Linked DNA regions of Homo sapiens: regions 1 and 2 are each linked to region 3. The links are contacts of gene promoters, found by promoter capture Hi-C in blood cells and fetal thymus (Javierre and others, 2016). All regions are on one chromosome and are shown on one strand. The core of a region is centred on a gene start or on the middle of the fragment in contact, and the rest is flanking DNA. Distances in the headings are between cores, read along the strand shown. Region 1 overlaps KRT33A (keratin 33A). Region 2 overlaps LOC100505782 (a long non-coding RNA gene). Region 3 holds the start of KRTAP2-4 (keratin associated protein 2-4).

What was found. The method cuts DNA at HindIII sites, captures the fragments that hold promoters and counts their contacts. A CHiCAGO score of 5 or more calls a contact.
Region 1: a fragment that was not itself captured here is called in contact with the fragment with the promoter of KRTAP2-4 in region 3 in 2 of 17 cell types (total B cells and naive B cells); the score reaches 6.0 in total B cells.
Region 2: a contact is called between a fragment that was not itself captured here and the fragment with the promoter of KRTAP2-4 in region 3, in 3 of 17 cell types (naive CD8 T cells, activated CD4 T cells and total CD4 T cells). The highest score is 7.3, in naive CD8 T cells.

What each region holds. Positions count from the first base shown.
Region 1 is chr17:41,346,321-41,350,264 of GRCh38, reverse strand. KRT33A (keratin 33A) reads left to right here. Exons shown (of 7, transcript NM_004138.4): 2 at 837-919; 3 at 1,626-1,782; 4 at 3,043-3,204; 5 at 3,296-3,421; 6 at 3,597-3,817. Among named protein-coding and RNA genes, the nearest start is that of KRT33A, 2.5 kb to the left of the region's middle. RefSeq lists enhancers at 2,804-3,304, 3,305-3,805. The HindIII fragment of the contact is 520 bases long and covers 2,435-2,954 here.
Region 2 is chr17:41,412,511-41,416,345 of GRCh38, reverse strand. LOC100505782 (a long non-coding RNA gene) reads right to left here. Exons shown (of 3, transcript NR_040111.1): 3 at 3,758-3,835. Among named protein-coding and RNA genes, the nearest start is that of KRT37, 10 kb to the left of the region's middle. The HindIII fragment of the contact is 7,068 bases long and covers 1-3,835 here.
Region 3 is chr17:41,063,961-41,067,600 of GRCh38, reverse strand. It overlaps KRTAP2-4 (keratin associated protein 2-4), which reads left to right and starts at 1,722. Exons shown (of 1, transcript NM_033184.4): 1 at 1,722-2,485. The coding sequence starts at 1,756. The coding sequence ends at 2,142. RefSeq lists enhancers at 1,452-1,988, 1,989-2,526. The HindIII fragment of the contact is 6,863 bases long and covers 1-2,717 here.

The DNA of each region.
Region 1 (3,944 bases), core at 1,445-3,944, 280 kb before region 3:
GACTGTTAGGTCTAAATATTTGCATAGTGTTAGTCTATGTGGAGGTAGCAGCACTTTGCATAAATGAGCTGTAATTAAAAACTACCTCTGAATGCTTCCATGCACCTGCCAAGCTCCAGAATTATTACCCTGAGGTGAGAGAAAAGGACTGAGTCCAAAGGAAGCTGGGGAAACGGAATCTTTTGTAAAGACTGGGCCATTTTCTTTCTCCCTCATCTGAGCTTTTTGCCCCTTGGACTGCTGGCTGCCTCTCTCTTCTAGGTTCCTACTTATCCTGATTTCATTGTCCTCACCTTCATGCCTCTGGGCTTCTCCTGGTGCACAGTGTCCAGTGAGAGCCTAAAATGTTTGGCCCAAATTGGGAAGATTGGAAATTACCTAGGACAAAGTAGTCCCAGTTGTCTGGGACATCTGGGAACATGTGGCTTCTTCCCTGATCCAGTCCCCTGCAATTGCTAGTTTACCTATTTGTCTTTTCTGCTTGATTGAAAGTTTCTTGAGGGCAGGATCAAGTGCTTACCAATTTTTGTATCCTCAGCTCCTAGTATCATGCCAGAAACATAGTAGGTGTTTTTCATAAATGTCAACTATTATGATCAGCTTCTCAGTATTGCTCATTAGGATAGAAAAAAGATTATCTACTTATACTTTTTGCATATTTTGGTGTTCTTTTTTTGAATATAATTTTGGAAATATTCATTGAGTACCTGCTGTATATAGAAAGCATTTAATAAGATAGACATCCTGATCCTTCCAAGGAAGTGAATTAGGAAGGACTGCCATTGGTGAAAAATTACCAAGTCCTTGCTCATTCTTGAATGTTTTGGGCCTTCTAGATCCTGTGCAGCAAGTCTGAGAATGCCAGGCTTGTGGTGCAGATCGACAATGCCAAGCTGGCCTCAGATGACTTCAGGACCAAGTGAGTGGGCAAGCGGGGTGTTGCTGTTTATTTCTCTTCTCTGGCAGCCCTCCTTTCCTTTAGCCTGTTGTCAACACAAGTTAAACAAACAGTGACTGAGCTATGTTCTAGCTGCTTTCTCCAAGATTCACAGAGCCACCACACACCGTAGCTCAGAGATCCTTTCCCCAGGCCTTAGACTTCCTTTCCTCCTTCTTCTCCTCTGTGACGTGACACCCCTAGTCGTACTGTGAGTTAGTGTAGACGTGTTGGCCCCCGATGTTCTCCTATGCACAGAACCCATTCATGAGAATGGAGAATGTGGAAGCATATTATTTTGGAAGTCTTACAGTTTGTCAGCTTTTATCCTAAATCCACTGGCTTTCTTCTTTTTTTTAGAGACAGGGCCTTGCTCTGTCACCCAGGCTGGAGGGCAGTGGTGCAATCATAGCTCAGTGTAACTTCAGATCCTCAGACTCCTGGGCTCAAGCAACCCTCTCCCCTTAGCCTCCTGAATAGCTAGGAATATAGAAGTCTATCCACTGGATCTTTAAACGTAAAATTACCAGTGCATTTTCTTCCAGCTCGATGCTGAAAACCTAAACAAAAGAGATGGCTATAAAAACTACAAACCCTAATTCCTAGTTGCCTGACTAACCAAACCAAAGCAGAGTCAAGGCCAGGCCTATTCCTGCCCAGCCTGTTCCTGACCCTCCTGTGATCACAGATATGAGACCGAGCTGTCCCTGCGGCAGCTGGTGGAGTCGGACATCAATGGCCTGCGCAGGATCCTGGATGAGCTGACCCTGTGCAGGTCTGACCTGGAGGCCCAGGTGGAGTCCCTGAAGGAGGAGCTGCTGTGCCTCAAGCAGAACCATGAGCAGGTGAGTTCCCTGAAGAGTGATGGGCTCAGACTAGCCAGGACCTGTTTCACAACTGCCACAGGGTCCAGGACAGGCTGTCAGTAGAGGCTCAATTAGCTGAGGAAGTAATTCTGCATACAAAAAGGGATATGTAGAGAATGACTAATCTAAAAACCTGTGATATGAGATTAGGATTTTTCTGCCAGAGGCAGGAATGAGAGTGAGGAAGTTGGCAAGCCCAGTAGTGAGGAAAGCTGGGTAATGAGGCAGAAGCCACAGCCTCTCCTGTGCCCAGGTTAGAGTGCATGCAGCAGCAATCTTCTATTCCAATTCTCCATTTGTAGCTGGAGAAGCCAGGATGGCCTAGGCCCATCAGGCAGAGAGGGCTGAGCTAGAACAAAATGCAATTCTCTTCGTTCCTGTCCAGAGCTCTTTCTGCTTGCTGTTCAGTGTTGCTTGGAAACAGCCTTGAGCAAAATGCTCACCATTATGGCTAAGTCAGTTGGGCAAAAAAGAAGACGTGTATTTTATGCAACCTGAAATCCAAGAACAATGTAAATGGTGACAGTTAATATTAATCAAGTGCTTAGTATGTGCCAAACATTGTGCTAAGTGCTTTAACTCCGGAGGCAGTTCTCATGTTAAGATGAAGAAATCGAGGCTTCAAGAAGCTTCTAGAAGCAATGTATTAAGTGGTAGAGATGAGGTTGAATACAAATTTGTCTGAAATCCGCCTAAGCCCAAGTACCAAGCTATGCTTAGCAGGGAAGTAAACAGATACTTATTGCCTTCAGCAAAATCTATGCTGGTGGAATCAACAAATCACCCTTTAAGTCTCTTCTATGCCAGGATGGCAGATTTTGAAGTAAGCATTCTGTATTTCCTCTTTAGCTAGACTCTGTTCTTTTTATTATCCATGCTTAAGAGTCAAACATGTGAGGCTATATGGTATACTAGCAAAAACACTGAACTGGGCATTTGGGGACCAGAGTTTAAATAATGGCCCACCATGTATCAGCTTTGAGCCCAAATCACTGAATCTCTCTAAATGAGGAGTGATACATTTAATACAAAGAGCAGAGGGAAGTCATGGGCTTGAAAGTAGTTTGTAAAAAGTGGAGTATACAAATTAGTCATTGAATATAGATCCTGGTTAGTGACAGGATCAGAGGGAACAAAGTTTCTTGAAAGCTTAAGAATGATCAGAAGTTGAATTGCATTCTCTTAAGGAGAGCACCAAGATCCTTTGTGAAATTTAAAATTTTGCCCTTTCTCCATCAGGAGGTTAACACCCTGCGCTGCCAGCTTGGAGACCGCCTCAACGTGGAGGTGGACGCTGCTCCCACTGTGGACCTGAACCAGGTCCTGAATGAGACCAGGAGTCAGTATGAGGCCCTGGTGGAAACCAACCGCAGGGAAGTGGAGCAATGGTTCGCCACGCAGGTGGGCATCTAAGCACGTGGCCACTCAGGACCCGAGGCCCCCCAGGGCCCCGGAGGCAGGGTCTGATCCTTTCTCCCCTTGGGTGTTTCAGACCGAGGAGCTGAACAAGCAGGTGGTATCCAGCTCGGAGCAGCTGCAGTCCTACCAGGCGGAGATCATCGAGCTGAGACGCACGGTCAATGCCCTGGAGATCGAGCTGCAGGCCCAGCACAACCTGGTGTGTATTGTTCAGACCTGCTGGTGAGCGATGGGAACTTGGGAGGCAGAGTCTTGGGGATGCCCTTGGGGCCACACACTCTCCTTAGCTCTTGGAGCTTGTGAGTTCTTTGGAACCCCATGGAGGAACCTTATAAGGAGCAGCTCTCTGACACTCTCAATCTTCCCCACCACAGCGAGACTCTCTGGAAAACACGCTGACAGAGAGCGAGGCCCGCTACAGCTCCCAGCTGTCCCAGGTGCAGAGACTGATCACCAACGTGGAGTCCCAGCTGGCGGAGATCCGCAGTGACCTGGAGCGGCAGAACCAGGAGTATCAGGTGCTGCTGGACGTGCGGGCGCGGCTGGAGTGTGAGATCAACACGTACCGGAGCCTGCTGGAGAGCGAGGACTGCAAGTCAGTATGGGGGTAGTAATCTTCTCCTTGGGGCATGTTAGGTTGCTGTGGAGATGAATAGTCTTCTTGATGGAAATGAATTTATAATTTCAAGCTTTTGTTTGGAGGAAGTCCAAGGAGGAACAAT
Region 2 (3,835 bases), core at 826-3,325, 350 kb before region 3:
CTTTGATTCTCTCTTTCATCTGCTCAAAAACCTCCAGAGGACTCTGTTCTGTTTCTAGCTCTTCAGGCAAGTTGTGTGGCCCAGAGCAGGAACTTCATAGCTATTTGTTGAATAAATCCAGTTGGACAGCTGGCGTCTAGGAGTGTTGGCCTTGTGTTCAGTCCAGAGTCCACTATCTGGCCCTTTCTGGGTCACTGGGCAGAGCAGAAAGAACTTGGGCTTCAGGGTCAGGCAGACCTGGGCTGACATTTCAAGGCCCATACTTTTCATTCCAACTTGGTGAGTTCAGACAACATCCCTAACTGCTCTGAGCTTTGTTTTCTTTACTCTACAGTGGGATACTTGTAACTGCTTTGTAGTGTGGTTATAAGGATGAAAAGACACAACTATATGGGAAGCATATGGTATAATACTTGGTGGCACATAGTAGGTGGTCAAATAATAACACAGTAGGCCGCACATAGTAGGTGTCTATCTAATTTGCGTGTATAGATTTGTGAATGTGTGAGAGAGAATTAAGTAAAATATTGTATACCAAGTGCCAAGCTCGGTTCCCTTCACATAATAGATGTCAATAGATATTACTTCATGTGACCTTTATCTGTCCTTTATGAACATTGTTTTTCGCGTGGACTGGCCTCTTCCCCACAGGCATAAGCAACACAGTGTGCATATTTTCCTTTTTGTCTCTCCTCTCTCCTTCATCCTAGATATCCTCCTAAAACAAACCTCAGCAAAGAAGAGCAAACTAGGAAAACAAACAGAACTTGCTTATTACATTGGAGAAAACTGCATGCTAACTGATTTGAAGTACAGTAATCCAAACACTGGCTCCTCTTGAATTCATCAAATCCTGTTTTGTGACCTGGTGCTTCATTCACCTAGGATGAAGTCACCACAAAACTTGTCTATTGCTATGGAGCAGTGATTCCGTCTTCCAAGGGTGGTCCCCAGACCAGCAGCATCAGTGTCATGTGGGAACTTGTTAGAAATGCAGACTCCCTGGCCTGACCCCAGACCGCTTGAATCAGAAACTGTGGTGTGGGGCCTGAAAACCTGCATTTTTTGCAAGCCCTCTGGGTGATTCTGATGCTGGTTAAAGTTTGACCACTGGTGGAGATGTTATGAAAATAGAAGCAGACAATATTTTTAGCATAGAGGAGTACAAACTTCACTCTTACAGGCTTCAGAAATGCAATTTGGCTCTTTGGGTTGACATTTTGTGTCATTCAAACTCATTTCTTTGGGGGTCCAGTACTTGGGACAGGCCTGTTGTTGGCTGTTGCATTTCTGAAGTTGTACCCAGTTCTCTTGAGCCCACTTCTGCTTCTGAGTGTTTTCTTGTGTTCATCCTCTTTTTTTTTTTGTCACCCAGGCTGGAGCACAGTGGCTCGATCTCGGCTCACTGCAACCTCCACCTCCCAGGTTCAAGCAATTCTCCTGCCTCAACCTCCCGAGTATCTGGGACTACAGGCGTGTGCCACCACACCCAGCAAATTTTTGTATTTTTAGTAGAGATGGGGTTTCACCATGTTGGCCAGGATGGTCTCGATCCTTGATCTCGTGATCCGCTTGCCTCGGCTTCCCAAAGTGCTAGGATTACAGGCGCGAGCCACTGCGCCTGGCCTGTTCATCCTCTTTTTCTGGAAAACTGTCTCCCATCTTTCCTGCCCATCCAAGTCTTCCCAATCTTAAGTTCCAGACAAAGTGTCTTTGATGGCCCCTCTATATCTCTAAGCTCCAGTCACTTCTCCCTCCACTGAGTTACGTGACCTCTTTTTCTGCTCTCAGCTTTTTGAGGGTGGAAATTTCTCCTTTTCATCTCTGCATCCCCCATCCCCTTGAGAAGGGCTTTGGTATAACAGGAGTTCAGGAATATCAGACATTCAGAGTAAGTCACCAGGATAAGGCAAATCATGCCTTGGAGAATATCACCCACATCTGTATAGAGTTACAGAGAAGGGTCCCCATGCGTCTCATTGACTGTATATGGGACCAACTGGTGGCTGGCTGGTTGTCATGGCTGAATAGCCAGTGGCTCCAGCATGGTTTACACAAAAGTCCTGGGCAAGAAGGTTTTCTGGCCATCTACTGGCAGCCTTTCAATCTAAACTAATCAGAAATCCCACTGTACAGCCCGCACTTAAGAGTGATAGTAACTGTTACATCATGGAGCATGTCCAGGGAAACATTCCTGGGATGGCAAGGGGACTTTGAACCATGCTGAATGCAGAACCAGGAGTAAGAAATCTCACATCTGCCACAAAGAGCTGAGAATATGGCAGAATGATTAGATTTATCCTGTATGGGACACCATGGGGGAGAACTGGAGAGTAAATGAACTAAAGGGCCAACTCTCTGACTTACTTGCCAATGTATTACTAGCCTCCAGCTCAGCCCCTGGTTGGCACAGAGTAGGTACTTCATAGCTATTTGTTGAATGAATGAATGAATGACCCAACAAAAGCTATAGGGAGAGGTAACACGAAGGTAGATTTGTGAAGACTTTCTAAAAATTCTCTATAATGTGAGTGCCTTAAGGCTGAGCTAGCTGCTGTTAATTTTCTGGATACCAGTGTCTTGCACAAAGCCTGGGAAGCTGTTTGTAAGCCACAGGAACTGATGGTGTAAGCTCTCCTGGAAAATGGTGGACTAGATGACTAGTTGGAGGAAGGTCATCGAAGGGATTTAATGCAAATGGGTACTAGACTAGAGGACCCTGAAGTCCCTTTCGTCCTGGAGATGCTATGTTGTAGTGCCAGCTGAAACACACTTGCTGCTTCAAGGGCCCTCGTGGTGAATTCATTCATCTTAGGAATGCGGTCAAATTAGCATCTTTGTTAGCATAGACTGGAAGCTGGCTAGCTGCCCTTTTCCAGGGTGTATTGAACAAATGGCCACTGGCTTATTTGTTTTAGAAATAGGGGAGGCCATAAAGGTTCTGATGCTCTGAGTGTGTCTGAAGATTAAGGAAATTTAAATTTTGTTCTAGAGTCTCCCAAGCAATGGATAATCAAGGTAGATGCATTTCAAAGAAATGCAAAAATATTTCAAAAGATGAAAGATCAAAGTTCTTGAGTACGTATCTTCTGTAAACAAGGGTGATGAGGGACTCAGTCTGGTGAAAGGGTCAATAGAAAGGAAAGATGCCTGGGAAGGTGGGTGAGGCCCTGAGAACAGACACCATAAAGTGTTAATCACTGCCTGCCTTAATTAGCCTGTAGACTCCAGTACACAGAAGCATAATTTTATTTTCTGAAAATTGCAAACCATCAGTTTTATTATGAGCCGTTTTTTTCTCACTCCCAAAACGCTTATCTGTTTCACGTATGCACAGGGAAAGTCTTAATTGCCAACATCTGTTTTATAGGTTGTGTATTGATTTTAATTCAGTTCAAAATACTTAAAAATTTTTAAATTAGATTTCTTATTTAACCCAAGGAGTATTAAAAACTGTGTTAGTTTTCAAACACCAAGATTAATTTTGAACTTAGGTTTCATTTTCAGTTTTCTAATAATTTGTGTAAAGGAACTTTCCACCTTTTTTCTGCTACTTTCCTTCAAAAGGAAGCTGGCTATTTATTTTTCCTTATACTTGAAAGTCGTCTTCCAGGGCAGATCCCTACCTTTCACTCACCTTTGCCTCAAGACCATGGTCCTGGTATTTAAGACTTTTCACAACCTGGACTCAATGCAACTTTCCGGGGCTTGGGGATAATGTCTCCATTATAAATACCAACACAACTAGACTATTTTCCATTTTCCAAATGTTTGATTGTGTTTATTTTGTTCTCTATGAGAGAAGCTCATTCCCCAACCCTTTATAAAAAATATC
Region 3 (3,640 bases), core at 473-2,972:
TGCTGAAACATCTGGTTGCAATGCTCCTCTGCATATCCTAGCCCCAGGGAAATCTCAGAAGAATGGTGTGATTAGAATGTAAGGGCTATTCAAGGGTATGCTGAGGTGGAGGGTATGGCAGACACATCTGGCAGCAATAACTTAACTTAAGCATACCCTGAGAATGATCCTACAATCAAAGAAGAATGTATGCTTGGAGTTCTGAGCTAAGGATCTGGGAGTGGCCAACTTGGAGATCCACTCCTTATCTATGAAGGACATTTGAATCCCCACCTCATCCATTAGAACACAGGTCATACTGGGGATTGAGGCCCTTTGTTTTGGATTAAATGGAGGTTGTTAGGTGGAGGGTTCTAATGAAAATACTGTGTGAACTGCATGCTTTTTACAAATAATAGCAGTTCTCCTGTCCAGATACCACCACTGGACCACCCTTGTATGTAAGTTCCACTAATAAACCCTGCATCATGTTAGCTTTCTCCAGGTCCCTTCTCTAGCTCTCAGACACATTGTCATACTTAGTGGAGTCAATGGGGGTCCAGGATGACAATGTGTCATCTGGGCAAAACATTTCCCTAATTCTCTTCCAGTACCACTTCTAACCTTGCTGCTGAAAGGAAAGTTCATTACTTATTTTTTTAAATCTGTGTTTAATATGTATAAATGTAAGAGGTTCAAATGCAGCATTGTTACATGGATATATTGCATAGTGGCATGAAGTCTGGGCTTCTACTTTAATATATGTTTTCTTTCCTGTCTAAAGACCATGGTTTACTGAATCCAATGAGCATAAAACTCATAGTAGAGGCTACTTACTGCAGACTGAGGAGACCTGGATCTCAGACCTCATATGGTGACCTCATTGTGTGACCTTGGTACACTCTCAGGACCTCAGCTGTAGAGTGAGGGCATAGGCCTACATATTCTCCGCAATCCCTTCCCGGACTCTACAGATGCAACGACTAATTCCAAACAAATTACAAATATAATAATTGCAATGGATCCTTGAAGAGGGTTTTACAATCAAGGTAGAAGTTGAGTTTGGATTGGAAGGATGAGGAGGGCATTCCAGGTGAATGATGACACATCAAAACCAAGGCAGGAAAGCCCAGGTCCTAGTCAGGGGAGAGTGACCACACCAGTGGCCAGGGATCTGCATTTCGTGTGGTCCCTGCTCATATGAAAAACCACAAGCCTATCTTTAAGTGAGTCATGGAAGGAGCTATCTGTGAAGCAGATGACTACTGGTCTGCACTAGGATGATGCAATTAACCTGCTACCATCATGCCCATGTGCATTAATAAGGCAAGTCACTGCTTGGGTGCCGGTGATGGGAGCCTTTGAAGACAAGGAAGAACATGCTAATTTTAGCGCCAAAGGGCAGAGCGATTAGACACTAATTTAGAAAACACATTCTTTTCTCTCTTATGGGTTAGGAATATTTCAAAGGAAAATTAATCAGAAGTGAATCCAATGTCTAAATTTAGTGAGGATAAACAATACAAGAAAATGAGCGAATATTTGTGGTGTATGTACATGAATATGTATGAGGTGAAGAGTGACCAAAATACCATTAGTCAATGCTAAATCTTCACTTAATTGGCCAGAAGATGCACAAGAAAATGATCATATGTTGAAGGGTCATCAGCTCCCAGCCAGGGTATATAAAGGGCCCAGAGGGGGAGGAGGACATTCACACCTGAGAACATCCAGCTCCTCTCAATAGCCCAACCCACACCAGCCTCAGACACCACCATGACCGGCTCCTGCTGCGGCTCCACCTTGTCCTCCCTGAGCTACGGGGGAGGCTGCTGCCAGCCCTGCTGCTGCCGCGACCCCTGCTGCTGCCGCCCCGTGACCTGCCAGACCACCGTGTGCCGCCCCGTGACCTGCGTGCCCCGCTGCACGCGCCCCATCTGCGAGCCCTGCCGCCGCCCGGTGTGCTGCGACCCCTGCTCCCTGCAGGAAGGCTGCTGCCGCCCCATCACCTGCTGCCCCTCGTCGTGCACGGCTGTGGTGTGCAGGCCCTGCTGCTGGGCCACCACCTGCTGCCAGCCTGTGTCTGTGCAGTCCCCCTGCTGCCGGCCCCCCTGCGGCCAGCCGACCCCTTGCAGCACCACCTGCAGGACCTCCTCCTGCTGAGACCCCAATGCCCCCACAGAGCAATACACTGAAGCCTAAACATCTATCTGGTGTTTTTAAAAAGTTAAAAGAAAAATAGATTTTTTTTCACAAGGTGACAATAGTGATTTTTACCATCTGGATACAGCCTGGTGTAAGCAGACGTCCATTACCACCCTCACCCACATTTTCAGGTGTCTACATCAGCCTTAGTCATTATGGATAGTAAATCGACCTTTAAGAATTCCTGGGGTGGACTTTGCAAACACATTCTACAACCTGATGGTTTTTACTGCTCAAACTGTCACCATCATCTTTTGCAATGTGTTGCTCACTGTTGTCAATAAACTAATTTTTCCTGGCATAGCAGACTGCCCTGCTCCCTGATTTGTTCGTTAGTGCATGTTTATTAGCGTACACAGATAAGCAAGATTTTGGAACCTGCACAAGGGAAACAAAGCTCAACCTAAGCAAAACCTTATCCATAGAAATCTCATCTATTCAGTCATTCAGGAATTGTTTATCAAGGGACCTCCAGTTGACAGGTGCTGCCTGATTAGTGATGAACAAGCTACATGCCTTGTATCCAAGAAGCTTATGGTCTAATGGAATAGACAAAAGGAAAGACAATGTTCATGAAGAGGGGTAGAAGTGGGAATAGCATATGCCAAGCCCAGAATGACCACTGGTAGTAAACTGACCAGCACAGCGCATCTCATCTTCTTACCACAGTTCCTAGAGTAGCATTTTTCAAAGTGTGGCCCATGCGTCATACACAATAGAATCTCTTGCAATTGCCTATTAAAATGCACATTCTTAGGCCCCAAACCAAACCTAATGAATCAAAATCTCTGGGAGTGGGGCCCAAGGCTGTTTATTTTCTATCACTTCCATGTAATTCATTAGAATTTCAGGACCATTATTTCAGAGGAAGACCAGGATTTGAGCTCCTTGAGGGCTTAACAAGCATGGCCTGGAAGCCTTCCAAGAATAGTCACAAGGACAAGCCACAATGAAGACACCCAAAGTGAAGAAAAAAATGTAATATAATAATAAGTATGAAACAGCACCTGCTAAACTGTAATCAGAAGAATCGGTTTGGCAGAGAAGTGAATGTAAATGAATGTGCAAAAAAACAGTATCTTGAGTTTGTCATAGGTGGAATAAAATGACAACAAAAAAAGAGAGACAAAAAGTAAGAGATAAGGGATGAATAAAAAGTGAAGAGGGGAGGCAAGGCAATGAATAGGAGGAAGAGTGAAGAGGAAGATGATGGAGATGATGAGAAAGACAGAAGAGGAACAGAGACAGGCACTAGGATTCCTGGTACAAGTATTTGGTATTTGAAGATGTTACAGGAGAGCTAGGCCAGTCCTCAGATTACCCATGTGGCTAGGAAGTGTGTGCACATCAGGTGGTCTGCTGCCTGTCCTTTGCCCATCTCTATAGATCCATGTCTCACTGCTCCCCACTAAGATTCACTTCAAGCAACACTGACCTTATAGTTATTAAACATTTG